Linked DNA regions of Homo sapiens: all the other regions are linked to region 3. Evidence: promoter capture Hi-C in 16 types of primary human blood cells and fetal thymus (Javierre and others, 2016). All regions are on one chromosome and are shown on one strand. Each heading gives the region's core, a stretch centred on a gene start or on the middle of the fragment in contact. The rest is flanking DNA. Distances are from core to core; before and after follow the strand shown. Region 1 has its middle 38 kb from the start of PROKR1. Region 2 has its middle 34 kb from the start of ARHGAP25. Region 3 holds the start of BMP10 (bone morphogenetic protein 10). Region 4 overlaps ARHGAP25 (Rho GTPase activating protein 25). Region 5 has its middle 18 kb from the start of PROKR1. Region 6 has its middle 16 kb from the start of ARHGAP25.

Region 1 (3,037 bases), core at 133-2,632, 190 kb before region 3:
GGTGTACAGCTTTATTTCTGCATTCTCTATTTTTCTACAGAAATTTTAGGGTTTATAAAGTGAACATATACAAGCTGGAAAACAATGTAGCAATTATTTAATCTAAACTCTTTGTTTTATAGAAAAGAAAGTTTGGCTCTAGGAATTTGCTGAAGATTGCATAACTAATTGGTAGTAGGATTTTAGAAAAATTGTTTTCCCATTCAGTTAGGGTTGCAGTGTAAGTTCAAAGTTGTTACTTCATGCATTCACTTAACAAATACTTATTACAGGCCTACTATGTGGCAAGCAGTGCTCTAAACACTAGAAGTCTGGTGGGTGGGAAAATCAGAAAAAGCTTTGGCTTCTGGAGTTTATATCCTTGTGGGGATAGACAGGGAATAAACAAATGAATATATACTGTAGAAAATGAAGAAAATGAAGACCAACAGCAATTGGGGATGATGGTTATTTTAGATTGATGGCTGTTTTAGATTTAGTTTTCTTGAAAGAGGTGGCATGTGAGCAGACACCTCAATAAGGTAAAGGAAAAAGCTGTTGGCATATCTGGGCAGAAAATTCCAGGTTGAAGAAAAAGTGCAAAGGCCCTGAAATGGGAAAAAGACTGGAGTGTTTAAGGAATAGTGAGAAGGCCGGGGTAGGTGGTGCAGAGTGAATAGAATGGAGGAAAATTAGTGATAGAAACTGGGGAGCCAGAAGCCAAATTACACAAGACCATGTAGTCCGTGGAAGGACTTTGTATTTTATTCTAAGTGTTTGAGAAGACATAGGGGAATTTCGAGTGGAGGAGTAATCAATACGAAGTGCCTTTAACATGTGCATTCTCCCTATCATGTGTAGAATAGACTGTGGTTGCAGGGGTGGGACAAGGAGGCCAGTTAGGAAGCGCTAGTCCTGGTGAGATATAAATGTGTCCTAGGCAAGTGTATTAGTCTGTTCTCATACTGCTAATAAAGATGTACCAAAGACTGGGTAATTTATAAAGGAAGAGGTTTAATGGACTCACAGTTCCACATGGTTGGGGAGGCCTCACAATCATGGTGGAAGATGAAGGAAGAGCAAAGGAATGTCTTACATGGCAGCAAGCAAAGAGAGCATGTACAGGGGAACTCCTCTTTATGAAACCATCAGATCTCCTGAGACTTATTCACTATTTATAAGAACAGCACCTGAAAGACCCGTCCCACCCCCATGATTCAATTACCTCCCACTGGGTCCCTCCCATGACATGTGGGAATTATAGGAACTACAATTCTAGATGAGATTTGGATGGGGACACAGCCAAACCATATCAGTAAGGTAGTCATATTCAGCTTCACTTAAAAATTGATGCCATAAATGTAGTTAGGTTTTAATGGAAAGTTCACATTTTTCTAGCAAATCCACAGTCATTAAGATGTTCTTTCCTGCATGTGTGGTGGGCCAGGGGCAGAACACACATGCACAGGTATGTGCCCATACGTGTTTGACAGCTCAAATGGGACATTGGATCTATTTGGGAGGACTATTTCAATGGGAAAAGTGGATGGATTCAGGCTATATTTTGAATTTGAAACTAATAGGACTTTACCAGTATTAAATATAGGAAGACAGAAGAGTTGGGGTGCTTCCAAGGTTTTTCCTGAAAAACGGGGCAAAGAGTGGTAACATTTCATGTATTGGGAGTGCTGGGGATAACCAGGCTTTGGGAGAGTAGTAAGATATTCAAAAAGAGTAAGTTTAAGTGTTAAGTTAGAATGAAGGAATTGAGAAGGTACTCAGATATACCATTCTGGAAATCTTGAGAAAAACGGGGACTGGAAATCGAGCCATCAATGTCTAGACAATATTTAATGCCATTGGATCACATGAGATTGTCTAGAAGGTATGCATAGAAAGAAGAGATGGCCAATGATTAAGTCCTGGAACACTAGCAAACAGAGGCTGTGTGAAAGAAGAGGATGCATTAAATGTTACCGAGAGGGAAGGAGTTAAGAATTAAACAAATGAGTCCTGTGTACTAACATACACCAGGTTGTTCAGCATACACCAGGTTGTATGCTGGAAGCGGCACATAAACATTAGTTGTTTCATGTATTCATTTACTTAAATACTTATTTAGAGAGAAAAGGTCCTTTCCTTTCCCACATGGAACTTAGTCTTTCATGGTGGAAGGTATGCCACAGCTTAGTAAACAAAAATTTAGAAATCAGAAATTAGTAACACAGAAAACAATAAAAATTAAAATGTGGATGGTCAATGAAACCAGTAAAGTTTGTTCTTTAAAAAGACTTGTAGAAGAGGGAAATCCCTGTCAAAATTGACAAAGGACACAAGAAGAAAAGGCAGGAAAAAAAAATTATGAAAGTACGATATAAGTACAAATAGAGTAGCTCTTTTAAAAATCATAAGACATTATCATGAACAACTTTATGCCAATATATTTAAAAAGCTTAAGTATCCAACAACTACAAAATACACATTGATTTTCCAAGATAGATTATCGGCTGGGTCATAAAACAAGTTTTAATAAATATCAAAGAATTGACATTATACAGAGTATGTTCTCTGACAAATGTGATTGGATAATAAATCAATATCAATTATACAGCTAAAATAATTCTTCAGAGTTTAGAAATTAGCACATTTAAAAATAATCCAATGATTCAAAGAAGAAATTATAAGGAAAAAATATTTTGAACTGGATGATAATAAAACATAATATATCAGTATTTGTGGGACAGTTCTTAGAAAAAATTTATAGTTTTAAATGCTTATACTTAAAGGAAAATGGTTTAAAATTAATGACCTAAGTTTTCACATGAATACGCCAGAAATGAAAGAAAAAGGTAAATCTAAAGGAAGTAGAAGAAAGTAAATAATAAATATAAAAACAAATTTTAAAATAAAAAGAAGGCTGAAAAATGGACACATTTAAAGTTTGTTCCTTGAAAAGATTAATAAATTGATACATCCTCAGCAAGACAGAGAAGAAAAATACAAATAACCAATACCAGGATTGAAACAAGAGATATCAGTGAAGATTCTATATTTATTA
Region 2 (3,262 bases), core at 437-2,936, 170 kb before region 3:
ATCCCTATTACTTCCACCTACTTTCCTCTTCCCACATCCCCTGGCTGGCCATCTCATCCCAGGCTTAAGTTGGCTGTTGCTGAAGAGGGTAAAAAAGACTCCTGCTCTTCCACCTTGCCTGGACACTAGGAAAAAAATCTTTCTCCTCCTGGGGAAGGAACAGAAAATTTGCTTGGAGTGACATCATTCACTGATACAAAAACTGAAGTATGCTGCCACTGAAGGAGAGGCAAGAAACTGGTTTGCCCAAAACCTCCCTGCCAATACAAGCCAGAGTTTTGTTGCTATAAGGAGGAGTAGCAGGAAACCTACCTGTGTGTTAGGCCCTGGACTTCGTAGAAGACAAAGGTTATCTGGCACTGGAGGAAGACAGACAAAGAGAAAGCCATATTCTGTGATTCAGGAAGACAGAGACTGCCTAAAACTGAGGCTGAAGCAGAACAGAGAAACAGCCCCTGCTGCCACCATGAGCCTCAACTGAAGAACCAGCAACTACCACTGAGTAAAAGTGAGTACAGAGACCATCTCTGTGACACAAGAGGCCAGGCCTGGCTAAAAACTGAAGGCAGGGTGGCATTATTAACAAAAACCATCTGGAACTCAAGACTGCTTACCACAAGGTAGCAATGATCTACCACTGAAGGAATAGGAAGCCAGTGCAGTGGTACACTAAAACTATAGCACCAAAAAGAAAAAGAAAATCCAAACTAAGCTCAATTATTGGCTAGATCAACTCACTCCTTTACACACACATCTACACACACACACAAACACACTTGGTCTGAAAAAATAACTGTGTCAATTTTCCAACATAAACATTATTTAATTTACTCTCTACCATTCTTTAACATTCATTGTTTGGCATTCAATTAAATATTATAAGACAGAGAAAAAAAAGGAAAAACATATTATCAAGAGATAAAGAGAACAGAACAAGACTCAGAAATGGCCAAGATGTTGAAACTATCAGCCAAAGGATTTAAAATAACTATGATTAATATAATACAGAATATAGTAAAAAAGGTGGTCAGCTTGTATAGGCAGATGAGAAATTTCAGCAGAAAAAAAATAAAACTGTAAAAAAGTGTCAGCTGGGTACAGTGGCTCATGCCTGTAATTCCAGCACTCTGGGAGGATGAGGCAGGAGGATCACTCGAGACTTGGAGTTTAAGAGAAGCCTGAGCGACATGGCAAAACCCCAGTTCTACAAAAATATTTTTTAAAAAATTAGCCAGGCATAGTGGCTGTGCCTATAGTCCCAGCTAATCAGGAAGCTGAGGCAGGAGGATTGATTGAGCCCAGGAGATTGAGGCTGCAGTGAGCTGTGCTCATACTACTGCACTCCAGCCTGGGTGACAGAGCAAGACCCTGTCTCAAAAAAAAGTGTCACATCAAATGTTATAGATTTTAAAATCTGTGATGCTAAAGAAATATACTTCTTTTGGTTAGAATGTCATAGAGAAGCAGGAGAGAAAATAACCAGCAAATTTGAAGATATATCATTAGGAATTACTCAAAATAAGACACAAAGAAAATAAAGCAACAGAAAATAAACAATTAAAGAACTCAAGATTTCTGAACAATATCAAACATCTAACAAAGGCAGTCTGCTAAGCTGAAGAGAAAGACAATATAGCAGAAGAACTATTGGAAGAGATAGTGGTCAAAATTTTTTCAAAATTAATAAAATATAACAAACCACAGATCCAAACAGCTCAAAGAACAACAATACAATGAAAAAAGCCAAACTGTTGAAAACTAAATAGAAAGAGAAAGTCTTGAAGAGAAGATAGAAGGAGGGGCAAACCCATCGCATACAGAAAAACAAATACAAGAATAACAGCCAACTCCTCACTGGGATCGATGCAAGCCAGAAGACAATGGACACTGTCTTAAATAAAAAAAAAAAAAAACAAAAAAACCTGTCTTCCTAGAATTATATACCTAGTGAAAATATATTTCAACAATAAAGGTGAAATGAATATTTTTTAGGTGAACAAATCCTGAGAAAACTCATTGCCAGCACATCAGCACTATGATAGAGGTTAAAAATTTTTTTTTTAGGTAGCAGAATATAATACTAGATGGAAATAAAATTTGGATATACACAGAGGATTGAAGGGTGATAGAAATGGCAAATATGGTAGGAAATCTTAAATGACTTTTATTCTTCTAAATTTCTTGAAAAGATAATGGACTGCTTAAAGCAAAAATTAAACTTTTTGTTGTATTTATAATATATATAAATTAAAATGTATGACAGTGATAGCACAGTGACAGAGCAAGGGAAAATAAGAGTATACTGTTGAAAGGAGTTTATGCTACATGTAAAGTGGCATAATATTACTTGAAGGTAGACAGTGATAAGTTTAAGTACTGTAGTCCTATAACAACTACTAACCAATACATAAATAAATAAAAGAGTTATAGCTAATAATCCAATAAATAAAATAAAATAGATTTATAAAAATAGCAAATTAATTAAAAAGTGCAGGAAAAAAGGAACAAAGACCCTAATAACAGAATTTCAAAATATAATTTTTAAAAACCCAACCTGATAAAACAGAAAACAGACAAAGGCAAATTCAAAATTACAGCTAAAGGTTTTAATACTTTACCCTTAGAAATAAATAAAATGAGTAGAGGAAAAGTAAGTAAGGATATAGAAATCTGAACAAAGCTATCAACCAGTTTTATCTACTTTACAATTATAGAAAAATCCACTTACAACGCTAGAATACATATTCTTTTCAAGTGCACATACATCATTTATCAAGATAGGCAATATTTAAAATAATTTTTAAATGATTCAAATTATATAACGTATACTCCTTGAACATATGCTTCCATTAAAGTTTTAATATCTAGGATTTATAAGGAACTTAAACAATTGAACAAGTAAAAGACAACCCCATTAAAAAATGGGCAGAAGATATAAACAGACATTTCTCCAAAGAAGACAGACAAGCAGCCAATAAACATGACAAAATGCTCAACATCACTAATCATCAAAGAAATGCAAACCAAAACCACAGTGAGATACCATCTCACACAAATCACAATGGCTATTATTTAAAAGTCAAAAAACAACAGATGCTGGTGAGGCTGCAGAGAAAAGGGAACATTTATACACTGTTGGTGGAAATGTAAATTTAGCTCAGCCACTATGGAAAGGATTTTGGAGATTTCTCAAATAACTTAAAACAGAACTATCACTCAACCCAGCAATCCCATTACTGAGTATATATCCAAAAGAAAATAA
Region 3 (3,342 bases), core at 725-3,224:
GGCAGAGGTGCTGGCGGCTGGGTTGTTTACTAAGAGATGTGTTCCTGCCCTCAATAATCTCCAGTAATAATAAGCACAGTAAACTCCACATCCTGACCTGGATCATCCAGATACTCTATGAGAGAAGTGAGAACGGAAAACGTTTCTAGTTTTCCAGGGGATGCAAACAACATTTTCTCACCCACACCCTGAGCCAGACACTTAGGGCTCAGTGCTGAGAAGTATTAGGGAGGGTTCTTACAGGAGGAAGTTGTTCATTTTCAATTCAGACTCACCTCCAAAAGCAATCTGTAATCTCAACTTGCCATTTCCATGAGAAAGATATTATGAATTATAAATTTTGGCAGCCAACTCAATTTTAAAGGGAGATAATATCTTAGGGACTAAGGAATACCTACTCAACATTTATTCCAGTACCTAGAATATTAAGTAACTCATTAGTAGTCACTAAAGTTTGATCAGCACTTCATAGTAAATGGAGTGCTTTCTTATCTGTAACCTCCTTTGAGTCACTCAACTATGTTATGTAGGTATTATTACTCCCACTTTATAGATGAGGAAATTGAGGCTCTGAGGCATCAGCTAATTATTCACAACCACTAAGCCAACTAGCTCTCAAAATCCCAAATCCTGAGCTATTTCTTCACTATTACCTTTCTTCTTTCAAGAACATCTGGCCAATATTAACGGGAAGCTTCTTTTATACCTGGTTAGTGACTATAAAAGCATAACTGGCAAAAATTAAATTAGTTCCTTTGGACCTTCAGCTTCTACTATAGATATCTAGATATCAGGGGTTTTTTTTCCTACTAGGACCATATTAACCAAAAAACAAACAAACAAACAAACAAACAAAAACATTAACTTGCTAGCTCATTAGATTTAGTTACCAAATTTAAAGACCTAAGAGAAGAAAACACACTTTTCCCACCAATAATTCAAAGCTTGTACGTTGCTCTTTATAAAGACGGAAATGATGAGCTGGATGATTAATGGGCCATCTACACTTCCTGGAAACTGTAAACAGTGCTTTAAGGATGTACATGACACATCAAACAACACAGCCTTAGGAAGAATCTTTAAAATATATTTCCATCCTGTTTGAACATTTCTTAAATAAGGTCACAAAATAAAAACTTATCAAAAGTTTGAACAAAACACAAATCACAATTTGATGTTTTTTGACTGTTTTTACCCTTTTTATTCTAAGTAGAAGTTGAGAAATTTTTTAGTTAATTAAAAGCCCATATGGCAATCAAGGCCTATTTGGAAAATGACAAAGGTACGGCAGTAGACCAACATTAATTCTTTGTATTACTTGGTGTTCAAATTAACATTTTTTAAAAGGACCCAATTATGATGTCAAATTGATAGATGTTTTGTGGCTTTGGATTAAAAGATGTTTGTAAGTATTTTTCGAGGTTCCTGAAATGACTATATAATTGGTATAGAACAAAATGTGCCTTGTTTTTGTGTATCCATATGTATTTAACATCCTTATATAGATGTATTTACCCTTACCTATATCATTCCCATGCATTGTAAATTTACTTATTGTGTCTTGAAAAAAATCCTAGCAAAATTTCATCAGCAAAAACTTACCTTCATTCTTGAAACTCCTAATGATGTTGGCAGAGGGCATGGAGGTCCGATCTGTTGCAAATTTGTTGTAGAGTTCCAACATGTACTCTGGTGGGTCCACCTTGGCTGAATCCTGCGTGGGGATGTCAGAGAGGTTTAGTGTCTTAAGAAACTCATCCTTCATGCTCTGGAGCAGTGTGTTAAAGTCGACACCGTCTTGCTCTGAGAAAACATCACCAAAGAGGGACATATCTTCTTCCAGAGGAGACTGCTCTAGGTTCATGATGGGGCTGCCAGAAACCAAGTAAGCTGCCAGGCAGAAAAGAGCGCACAGTGTCAGGACCAGAGAGCCCATGACTCCGCTCGAGCTCCTAGGCCAAGCCAGGAAGGTTTAGCTTCCCTGGGCTCTAAGTGGCAGTTTTATCTTGTGGAACGTAAATGTCTCCTGTCACTGGAGACAAGTTTGGAAACTCTTCCTCTCTCTCTCCCTCCCCCTACCACTCTTCCTCTCCCCCTAAAAGTCAGGTTGCAGTAATTGGATAACAAAATCCCCTATAGGGGCCTAGCCTTTCTTATCTCCCTAGTGTAAACTTGTGCACCAGAATTTGTTTCTATCTTGCAATCCCTATTTCTTTTAATGAGCATTTTGTAAACATTTCCACATTCTGACACTGGTTGAGAGATAGGACAATTTTCTCTTTGCAAAGGCTCTGCTTCTCTTCCCTTCAATTCACTTCCTTTCAGCAGGAATGCCTAAATTCTGTTTTTATGGGGCTTAGTTTCACACATGCATATAATAGGTATAAGAATCAACATAATGCACATCAATGGTGATACATGTTAATTTGAGAGGTAGGGCTCAGATAAACACTTGTGAAGACAGACCAAATATCCAAACTTTCCAAGTTTAAGTTAATAGCTATAAATGAATTATATAAATTTTTAGAAGTGTACCTTTTTAGAAACAGGAAAGTATAAACTTCATGATTGACAGGCTTTTTCCTACCTATTTGATCTGGCTAAAATAGCATTTGAAAAATAGGGCAAGTGCTTAGTTATACTGGCAACTAGAATTTATTAGATGCTTCCTACAAACAGGCATTGTACTGAGTGCTTTACACCTATCATCAAGTGTGCTCCTGTAATAACCGTATCATTATCTCCATCACATATATGGGTCAGTGAAGTGCCATAGCTTGCCAGAGGCCACAAAGTTGCAAAGTGATGGGGCCACAATTTCAACCAAGGCAGCCTGATTCTTATGAAGAATAAAACAGTCACACTTTTAAACCACTCTTCTACCAGACTAGGGCATGGGCAATAATGCTGAGAGGCCAACACGTCCCCAGATCAGCCTGGAGGCAGGAGGCAGGCAGAAATTTGTAGCTGGATGTGGACCTCAGGTCCTCCATCTGTGCAATGAGTTGTTAATATAACCAACATCTCTGCGAAATTCATCCTTCTGACTCAATCAAAATTGTCATCAAGAGGCTCCAGCAAAAGCTTGGTGTGATGGTTAATACTTACTGTCAACTTGATTGGATTGCAGGATGCAAAGTATTGATCCCGGGTGTGTCTGTGAGGGTGTTGCCAAAGGAGATTAACATTTGAATCAGTGGGCTGGGAAAGGTAGACCCACCCTTAATCTAGCTAGGCACCATCTAATCAGCCGCCAGCACGGTTAGAATATAAAGCAGGCAGAAAAACGTGAAAAGACGAGACTGGCCTAGACTTTCAGCCTATCTTTCTCCCATGCTGGAT
Region 4 (3,449 bases), core at 501-3,000, 130 kb before region 3:
GCTCTTTCTCATCTGCCTGGAGCCCTCTCTCCATCTGGGTCTCCCTTACCACCACCAGTTCCTACCCATGCTTTGGTCACAATGTAAACATCTTGTCCACGGGGAGTCTCTAGGTCTTCTGATCACTGGAGAGAGAGTATAAAAATCCTTTCCCAGGCCATTTAAACAGAGAAGTTTACAGCTCTCAATACTATGGACTTCCTTTTAGATAAGAGCCATGAACATTTCTGAACATGCATATATGAGTCAACCCCACAAGTAACTGATCCTTTGGCTTTTGAACAAAATGAGTTGTTCTTAATACGGTATGTAACACCAGCACTCTAGGCCCTCACTGGGGAGAATAACCTCAGATTGCCCAAAGAAAGGGGCTAAATTGTCCATTGACTCTTCTTGATAAAAATTGTGAAAGAAAGGAGGACGTGTGATATAGGAAAGTGTGCATGAGCTTGGGACTCTGCTTTAAGCAGTAGTGAATCTGGGGCAAGTTGCTTAGCTTCTACAAATGAGAGAGTAACACATATGCTGAGAGGAAGAAAATATTTCATGCGTATGACATATATTAGGTGCTCAGCAAACATCTCTTTCCTTTCTTTATAGGCAGTCTCATTTCCAACCTCAGATCAGACTAGAAGCTGTACTTGGATTACATTATCTTGCTACCCTCGCAGAATAGGGCTCACTGAGTTGTCTTTTAATGTTATATCTTCAGTTTATAGCTTCCCTGCAAGTAATGATTTCATGAAATCTGCTCCTAATTGTACTGGAAAAATGAGAATGAAGAATGGAGAACGCCAGCAACTTCTATGTATAACTCTATGTGAGAAAGTTGCTTGGGAATTCAGTGCTCAGAAAATAACTTTGTCTTCTTTGAGGGACTGCAGTGCTTCCTCCTTTCTAGTAAGACAGGAGTGCAACTTACTGTGTTCTCCTCTTTGTCTTGGCTGCCAGGAAGCAGAGCTAAATTTGAAGCTGAGTCACAACTTCTAACGCCCATTTGATTAGCATACTTTTAGTCTTTGTCTTTGATCAGAGTTTATGTGTTCATTGCAAATAATTTCCATACTTTAAAAAATGTTATTATTTAAAAATATAGATGGGGGAGTCTCACTATGTTGCCCAGGCTGGTCTCGAACTCCTGGGCCCAAGCAGTCCTCCTGCCTCAGTCTCCCAAAGTGCTGGGATTATATGCATGAGCCACCACACTCAGCTTCAGATTTCCTACTTTTTAGTAGTGACTGAGCATTGCAATTTATCTAAGAAAGGTTCAAGGAATATTAAAATGTTGAAAGTTATTTCTTTTAGTTCATAAAGTAAAACGCAATTCCATGACCACTCATATTCTTTACCTAGAGTTACATAAAATTATGCAATCTTCAGTACATTCAGACCAGTCATTTCATTTCATGCACTCATTGAGTCACTCATCATAAAACATGTATTTGCTCACTTGTATGTGAGAGGTACTTAAGCAGCATTGCCCTGCTGTGCCTCTCATGCTGCAAGCACCCCTCACCACCCCTCCACCTTTCTAAAAGTGATGCTCAACTTTGCTACTACCATCTATTCTCCTTAAGCTGTGACTGACTAAGGTGACAGCTGCCGCACTGTCTCCTTTCCACGCCGTACTATCCATCCACCCCCAAAATATGCACACATGGATCTCAGCTCTGGATGGGGCTGCGATACCCCACTGCTGGAATTTTGGCCTATGGTGGCTGAACCATTTGCTTCCTTGTTGGTTTGGAGTTTCAAAGTGAAAGAGGAAGCAGTAAGATATAGAGTTCCTGAGTGTGATGTGAATACTTTTTAATATTTTAAAATAATTTTATAAAGTTGACAAAAAGAATTTTCTGACAAAGTGTAAACTAACCATAATGGAATGAGCCAGCTATCATACAGTGGTTAAAAAGCTGGCTTTGGGGCCAGAATGCCTGAATTTGAATCCCAGTATCATCGATCGGTCACTGTGTGACGTTGGACCTCAGGTTTTCCAACTGTAAAATGAGTGCAATCCTAGTGCTAACTCATGCAGTTATTGTGAGGGTAAGAGAAGATGATCTATGTCAAACTTTAGCATAAGAGCTGGTGTCTAGTAAGTGCTTCATAAACACTAGTAATTATCATTATTGTTATGGACATTAGCTATAATGGAGATCTGATATCAGCTCCTTTGAATCAAGTCATTGGTGAAAACCACAGCCAGCAGTGCCAAGGTTTTGTTTGTCTTGATTAGGTTTAGTTCTTCATTCTTTTCTTTAGACATATGGTCTTTACAACATCTGCAGATATCTCCTTTCCTGCCCAGTGTCTGCTCCTGGCTCACAGCACACATGCTGATCTGCAGTTGACTGGTTATGTTCTGCTTCTTACTCTTTATGCTTCCAAATGCCATGTACTCACTTCCTTCTCAATTTGCATGAATTGTGTCAATTTTGTCTGCATGGCTATTCTTGTTTTCTTCCTTTTTGCTTTGTTTTGTTTGTCTATTTTTGCCAGTTATTTTCCAAATAAGTAAAATGCCTGAGTTGTGACTTTCTAATAAGGATAATGATAGCTTCTGGTAAGTTTCCTGCAGAATTCCTGCTGTAGAAATGTCATTGTCTCTGTGCTATGACAGGAGCAGTTCCTCAAACTTTCCTTGCTTTGGGTAGGCAAAGAGTGACTCTGGGTTGTTTGCTGTGTGGAAGACCCTCCTCCATGACTTAGTGCTTCCTCCTCCAGAGCTGCCCACCATCTCCTACTGTCATGCGTACCTCTGGCCACTGAAGTGAGGTTGGAAGTTGTTAGTGTGGGCTTCAGGGGCTCAGTGTTTAACTGCTTGTGATCACTTACATGTGGGTTACAGCAATGGCAGAGCAGTTTTTCCTATTAGCTCTAAGAGTCCTGTACCTGGCCTACCATTCTCTTTCAGATCATTATTTGTAGATATAATTGTGGGGGAAGAGCAGGACCTTCAAAATGAGGCTCCCGCCTTTCTTGTCCTCAATTCTGCTGTTGCTACCCAAAGATTCTTGTGCATGCATTCTTCCTCTTTGACTGTCATTCTGCATTTGATTCCATGCACCTGGTCATTCAGAAGCCAGAAATCCACTTTATTAGTGAGTGAGGAATCTCCTTATGCAGACATCTCAGAGTAAAAATGATAGCAGATGTAGAGTTGTCACCTCCAGTCCATTCTCAGCCCAGCCCTTGTGCTCTGTCCTGAGACCAATCTGTTTGATCTTGATTTTGGCACTGATCTTCTTCCTGTGAGCGTTCCTCATTCTCTTTCCCAGGTAGAGTGACAGCTGGCCTGATTTGTCTGGGACTCAGGGGGCTCGTGGGACATGGAACTCAGTGTGAAAACCAGGAAAGTAACCCTAGAATCAGGTCGCTAGGCCCAGGGAAACAAAGCTGTAATTGTGTTAGGTGCTTTGTATGTTTCTTGAATTGAATTTCCTGAGAAG
Region 5 (3,206 bases), core at 557-3,056, 250 kb before region 3:
AGCTTTCTAGATTCCCAGAAATATGTGGAAGTGTTTTAAAGCTTTTCATTCCCCATTCTTTCTCTTCAAGTTTTGAGGTCAGTCTATTGTTTGCCCAACTATTATTCATTGCCTTTGGCAATAATGATTAAAACTTTTGCCTATAATTGTTTTTGACAAATGCCCCCCTGGTTAGCAGCTTTAGCTTTAACAGTAGGTAAGTATTGAGTCAAGTAAGATAAAGATAAGGCTTTCAAGCAGTCTTCCAGGAAGTCACCAGATAGGTTACATAATGACAAATTTTTTGTGAATACAGTTAATCCACTTCCAGTGGTGCTGGGAATATAGGCTATTATTTCCAAGACTACTGCTGGGCCTGGGAGAAGGGCTTGCACTAGGGTAAATTGAAACCCCACAATGCTTGTTGTTCTTACAGTTTTGTTTTGTTTTTTTTTTTTTCCGAGACGGAGTCTCACTCTGTCACCAGGCTGGAGTGCAGTGGTGCCATCTCAGCTCACTACAACCTCCGCCTCCTGGGTTCAAGCGATTCTCCTGCCTCAGCCTTCTGAGTAGCTGGGACTATGCCACATGCCACCACACCTGGTTAGTTTTTGTATTTTTAGTAGAGACGGGGTTTCACCATGTTAGCCAGGATGGTCTCGATCTCTTGACCTTGTGATCCACCTGCCTTGGCCTCCCAAAGTGCTGGGATTACAGGTGTGAGCCACCACGCCTGGCCCTTACCTAGTTTTTTTTGAATAAGTTCTTATATTACTCAATCTCTGGCTAATTTCCAGAGTTCCAAAAAAGTTAATGTTGAAAGATTTTGACAGTTTATTTTTTGTTGCTTTCATAGGGGGCAAAACTCCTGAGTTTCTTACTCTGCCATTTTTCCTGATGTTCTATTTAATCTTGAATAATCATACTCACACTGGATTTTTGAGGATGTTCTGCAGTATTTCAAACACTTTCATATCCATCTTCTCATTTTATTCTTATAGTAAACTTTGTAGCTGAGAAGTAAACATCCCTTTTATGGAGGAGAAATGTAAGGTGTCCTGCAGGCAGTTACTCTGTCTTCTGTGTGCCCCAGCTTCTCTATCATATCATCCCATTAATTTAGATTAATTTTTTATAGCTAGACAATAAACTCCAAACAGAATAGATAATGTTATTGTCTCCTTGAGACCAAGCACATAGCATAGCTTTTATTCTAGAACAGAGTACATGTTTTGGAATTTAAAAATGAATAAAAAATAAAGTTTAATGTTTAAGACCTCTTTCCTGATGAAATAATTTGTGTCCTGCAGTGTTAGACCTGAAAGTGTCCTCAGGGGCTACATGGGGAGGAAATAGATTGCACAGGACTTAGCTTCCTATCTCAATGTTTCAACAGAACCATTCCCCCTTTAGTCATCTCTCTCCTAATGTTCATTTGACAAATATTAATGGAGCTCCTACTATGAGTCTGGCCTGATAAAAGAAGTTACAAAGAGAAATTAGGAAAGCAGAGACCTTGTCATGGAATTTACATTGATGAGAGAGAAAATAAAAATGAAAAAACATATAATTTCAAGTGGAAATAAATGATAAAAAAATAAAGCAGAACAAGGTAGGAAGGCACTGGGGAACACAAAATGATTTTAGATAGGGTTATCAGAGGTGTCCTCTCTGAGGTGATATTTAAGCAAAGATATGAATGAAATGAAGGTCAGGTCATCTGAAGATATGGGGGAAATGTTCCAAGCAGGGGAAGCAGCAGGTGGCAAGACCCTGAGTTGGGAGTGAGTTAGCATGATTCAGGAATGACAAGACCACAGTGGCAGAGGTGGGATGAACAAGGGCAGAGTGCCATAGGAGAGAGTGGTAGAGATCAACATGGTGGGGCCATGCCGTATTTTGCAAGTCAGTGCTGCTACGTTAGATTTGTCTTGAACAAATAGTATTTTGGCTAAAGTAAAAGTTTGAAAAGCACAAATTTTATGTTAAAATTTATTATTATATATTTACTTGCTCCTTCCTTCCCTTTCTCCTTGTCTCCCTCCCTCTCACCTTTCCTTCCTTCCTCCCTCCCTTCCTCCCTCCTTCCCTCCCTCCCTTCCTTCCTTCTTTCCTTCCTTCCTTCTTTCCTTCCTTCCCTCCCTCCCTCCCTCCCTTCTGTTCTTTTCTTTCTTTTTATTTATCTTCCCTACCAACAGAGTCTAGATCATGTCTTCTTTACCTGTGATTAACACAGGACCTGGCACATAGAGGGTAATCAAATGATATTTTTCTGAATGAGTGAGAAAATTGAGACCCAGAGAGGCCAAGTAGCATTTTTAAGGCCACCCAGATAGTGACAGAACAAAATCCAGATTTGTGTTTAGCTCATCTTCTGTCACTTTACCACATCAGTTGCATGGAATTAAAAACAGATCCAAAGATTTTATAATTAGTGTATGTGGTTTGTTTTCTGTTACTGACTCCAAGTATAATCTAGTCACACAATCACACGGCTAAGACATTAGTGAAAGACGATTATTGTTTCATTGGGTTAAGGAGAAAGGTTTCCTGGTGACAGTTAGCATCAAAGATATACTGTGTTATAAAGAACCACAGGGTGTGATTGAGGTAGGATGGAGGAGGGACTGCTCTATTGGTACAGTGTCCTGTATCAGGGAGGGATAGTTTGGTTGCAGTCTTTCCTTAATTAGAGGAGGAGAGATAAGGGGAAAATATCATCAAGAAAATGAAAAGTTTTCAAAGTAGAAAATGCCACATTTTCTACTTTGCAGATGCAAAGGCCAGGAAGCAGACAGAGTCAGAAAACAAATTGTCTAGAATGACCCATAGTGCTCTGGAGTACTTTAATGTGATTGGCCAAGGCTTGAAGCATCTCTTCTGGCAGCAGCCCAAGAAGTCATCCATGTCTCCATGTGATGTGCAGAAAATTCAGGCAGATCCAGAACCTGAAATAGATCTGGAAAGCCAGAACACATGTGCTGAGACTGAGAGTAGCCCCACCTCCCACCCCACAGCTCTGAATCAGTTCCTGCAACAAATCCAAGTACCATTCAAGATGAAGACAAGACAAATTTTTATGGCAGGCAGGGCAAGCCAGAGGCCTCAAAGGAAAGTCTCAAAATCAGTAGGGTATACGGCCAGGATATGGCAGCTATCAAGCAGTCAAGCCAACCTAGGTTTTCTTCATCTGTGACTAATGCTCCTACCAGCTCAGCTGTGGTGGA
Region 6 (3,424 bases), core at 160-2,659, 150 kb before region 3:
CGTCCTTATTCTACTGTATAAGTTTTCTGAACCAAACTTCCTTCATTGTGACATGGTTTTGCCACAGCTGGTCGTTCTCTTTACTCTTTGATCCTGGTTGAACGATTCATGTAGATTCTATCTCTCTTTAAATGTCAGAATGTGACATTCAATATTTTTCGCAGTATTTGTTTTATGTGTATTCCTTAATGTTTCTGTTTTAGTTAAATACAGTCACACATCATTTAACAATGAAGATATGTTCTGAGAAATAGGTTGTTAGGTGATTTCAGGTGATTTCATTGTGCAAATGTCATAGAATATACTTACACAAAACTAGGTGGTACACACCTAGGCCATATGGTACGGGCTATTGCTCCTAGACTACAAATCTGTATAGCGTGTTACTGTACTGTAGGCAATTGTAACACAGTGGTAAGTATTTGTGCATCTAAACATATCTAAACATAGAAAAGGTACAGTAAAATACAATATTATTATCTTATGAAACCACTACTGTATATGGGATCTGTCATCAACAGAAATGTCTTTATGTGGCACATGACTGAATACATCAAACCTTAGGTTCATTGCTGTGTGAATCAGGGACCTCTATGTTAAAAGGCACAGTATGGGAGAAGCATTGTGATCTGGCCCAGGGTCAGGATGTTGAGGCTTTTACTGGCTCTAGAACTGAGTCAATTCAATCTTTTCTTTTTAAGCTTTAGACACTTCCTCTGCAAAAGACGATAACTTAATCACAGCCTCTGACAGGTTTGTGGAGTTGAGGCTTGACAAGGGTGTTAGGTAAAAACTGCAGTCTTGCATATGTGAAGCCAAAGGTCTGAGCTGTGAGCAAACCTATCATCACCGCTATTGAGTGACAGCAGTCACTCGGCCTTTCACATTCCAACTTAAAAAGCAGATGCATATTCCTATGGCTTTTCTTTGTATAAACACTATCCATAAAGCAATGGCAGAAAAGTTCTGGTTTCTTTAAAGTGGGAGTGAAAACTAAGACATATTTTAAGGTGTTCCAAGTGTAGGGGTTTTTATGAGTCCCCCTTCCACTTACCCACATGTGAATTGACATATTTTTGCCAATATAAATTTATTCTTCCTTTCCAAAGCCATTAACTTAATATTCATAAAAAGAGCTCTGTTTTTTCTTTTGCACTCATATTTCATTGGTTTAAGTAACCCACTTTATCATATAATTAGAATAGTAAGTACGGTTTATATCATCTTGGAATGCATTAGCTGGGCAACAGATAATTCACTTGGTGGGAGTAGAAGTAAATGGTGTACTACCAGCTGTGAACACTCAGCAGCTACTATGCACTCATCAAAGAGTGTTATAAAGGGTTACAGAGAATTGGGAACTTAGTTAAGGGCAGATTTGTTAAAAAAAAAAAAAAGTATCTTCTTTGCCAATCAAATGTGTCCCCTCAAAGTAGACCTCTAGAGCCTGGCTACTCAAAGTCTGATCCAGAGACCAGCAGCATCACATCACATTTTCTTTTTCTGGAGGATCTAAGGGGAGAATCATTTTCTCACCTTTCCCAGCTTCTAGAGGCTTCCAGCATTGCCTGATGGCCCCTTTCTTCCATCTTTCTGAACTTTGTTTTGTACTCACACTTTCTACTTCTACAGTCAAATCTCTTCTTACCTCCTTCTTATAAGGGCACACTTGGATAATCCAGCATGGCATCCCCATCTCAATATCCTTGACTTAATCGCATCTGCAAAGTACTTTTACCATATTGTGAAATAATAAGAAATATATAAGTGTGTGTGTGTGTGTGTGTATGTATAGATAGATAAATAGATAGATACCTAGACAGATAGATAGGTACATAGATACCTAGATAGATACATAGATAGAGATATTTGTCTCTGACCCTGGTTCCTGACATAGAGCTCCTAAACTTTTCTAATTCCCTAAGTGGTACGGGTACTAGCAGCATCATTTGTTCTAACATTTGGTCTTTGAGTCCAGTTCCTGACACAGAGCTCTTAAATTTCTTGGTATTTTCTGGGTGATAAGAGTGTCTTTTATTCAAATGAAACAACTCTTGATGAGGCCTTGGATAGCTTTAGGATAGGGGCTTGTCATCAGAAAGACAAGGCCATGATTAGAAGCTTAGCACTTTTAATTCCCAACCTTCATTCTCTGGGGAGGGCAGAAGAGCTAGAGATTGAGTTAGTAATAGATCAAGCCTACATGATGAAGCCTCCAAGAAAAAAAAATTTCCCTCAAGTATGGGTTTTGGAGAGCTCTGGGGTTGGTAAACACATCCATGTACCAGAAGTGTGGTGCACCCCAGCTCCACAGGAATAGAAGCTCCTGCACTCAGAGCCCTTCCAGACCTCATCCTATATACCTCTTTATGTCCTTTATTATAAAAGAAAATGGCAAACACAATAAGTGTCTCCCTGAGTTTTTTAAACTATTCTAGCAAATTATCAACCCCAAGGAGAGGGTCATGGGAGCCCCAGTTTATGGCCAGTCTGTTAGAAGCACAAGTGAGAACCCTGGACTTTTGACTGGTGTCTGAAGTGGGGGCAGTTTTGAAAGACTGCGCCCTTCGTCTGTGGCACCTGATGCTAACTCCAGGTAGATAGTGTCAGAACCGAATTGAATTGTAGGACACCCAGCTGGTATCAGGGAATTGGTCGACATGGCAAAAAAAAAAAAAAAGAAAAAAAACCCCACAAAACAAACAAACAAATAAGAACAACGCCCACATTTTGGTGACCAGATGCAAAGTGTTGAAAATGTAGAGGAAAAAAATAACTTTTTTTTTTCTATATACATGTAAAGGAACACATTCTCATGTTCTAGGGATTAGGATGTGGATATCCTCGGGGGCTGTTATTCAGCCTACCACAACTTTGCTGTCAGATACCATTTTAAGGTAACTTAATGATTATTAACACTACTGTTTAACAAGTGCCTGCTATGACCCAGGCACTTTACATATACATGAAACCTACTTCTTATAAGAATACCCCACAGTAGATATTATCACCCTATCCATGTAGATGAGAAGTCTGGGGTTCAGAAATCCCAGTAATGACAGAGCAGGGGTTGGTACCCAGACCCCCATGGGTCCCAGCCTCTGACCTTCTCTTGGTACCTGACTCATGCCACCATCATAATCACCTGTTTTATTCCCAAACTCAGAATAAGGTACGCCTATGTCCAGGTTTGTCCAGTGACCTGTCGCGTTCACTGATCTAAAGTCCATGCTTAAAGATTTCCTTTTGAAAAGGAATCTTTAATGTTACATGAAGACCAAATTGATGGTTTCGGTAAAAAGCCAGAGCAACTTCCTGTGCACTATCAGCTGACTGATCAGGGTTCTTTTCTAGAAATCACACACCCAGTCAGGGAAGGTCTCCATCTTCAAAATTACAGGAGTTAGACAGAAATGCTGTCCCT

What was found. Contacts are between HindIII fragments. The CHiCAGO score rates a contact against its expected background, and 5 or more counts as called.
Region 1: a fragment that was not itself captured here is called in contact with the fragment with the promoter of BMP10 in region 3 in 3 of 17 cell types (naive CD4 T cells, non-activated CD4 T cells and naive CD8 T cells); the score reaches 7.5 in naive CD4 T cells.
Region 2: a fragment that was not itself captured here is called in contact with the fragment with the promoter of BMP10 in region 3 in 7 of 17 cell types (naive CD4 T cells, activated CD4 T cells, total CD4 T cells and 4 more); the score reaches 7.4 in naive CD4 T cells.
Region 4: a fragment that was not itself captured here is called in contact with the fragment with the promoter of BMP10 in region 3 in 1 of 17 cell types (naive CD4 T cells); the score reaches 5.8 in naive CD4 T cells.
Region 5: a fragment that was not itself captured here is called in contact with the fragment with the promoter of BMP10 in region 3 in 1 of 17 cell types (non-activated CD4 T cells); the score reaches 5.4 in non-activated CD4 T cells.
Region 6: a fragment that was not itself captured here is called in contact with the fragment with the promoter of BMP10 in region 3 in 1 of 17 cell types (total CD8 T cells); the score reaches 5.2 in total CD8 T cells.

Annotation. Positions count from the first base shown.
Region 1 is chr2:68,680,219-68,683,255 of GRCh38, forward strand. No RefSeq gene overlaps it. Among named protein-coding and RNA genes, the nearest start is that of PROKR1, 38 kb to the left of the region's middle. RefSeq lists an enhancer at 1-163. The HindIII fragment of the contact is 2,094 bases long and covers 336-2,429 here.
Region 2 is chr2:68,698,924-68,702,185 of GRCh38, forward strand. No RefSeq gene overlaps it. Among named protein-coding and RNA genes, the nearest start is that of ARHGAP25, 34 kb to the right of the region's middle. The HindIII fragment of the contact is 6,753 bases long and covers 1-3,262 here.
Region 3 is chr2:68,869,423-68,872,764 of GRCh38, forward strand. It overlaps BMP10 (bone morphogenetic protein 10), which reads right to left and starts at 1,975. Exons shown (of 2, transcript NM_014482.3): 1 at 1,603-1,975. The coding sequence starts at 1,936. RefSeq lists a silencer at 1,791-1,951. The HindIII fragment of the contact is 2,140 bases long and covers 943-3,082 here.
Region 4 is chr2:68,740,494-68,743,942 of GRCh38, forward strand. All of the region lies in intron 1 of ARHGAP25 (Rho GTPase activating protein 25), which reads left to right. Among named protein-coding and RNA genes, the nearest start is that of ARHGAP25, 7.4 kb to the left of the region's middle. The HindIII fragment of the contact is 4,735 bases long and covers 1-3,449 here.
Region 5 is chr2:68,624,310-68,627,515 of GRCh38, forward strand. It overlaps the pseudogene LOC100379290. Among named protein-coding and RNA genes, the nearest start is that of PROKR1, 18 kb to the right of the region's middle. The HindIII fragment of the contact is 3,535 bases long and covers 40-3,206 here.
Region 6 is chr2:68,716,764-68,720,187 of GRCh38, forward strand. It overlaps a transcript of ARHGAP25 not described here. Among named protein-coding and RNA genes, the nearest start is that of ARHGAP25, 16 kb to the right of the region's middle. The HindIII fragment of the contact is 1,420 bases long and covers 700-2,119 here.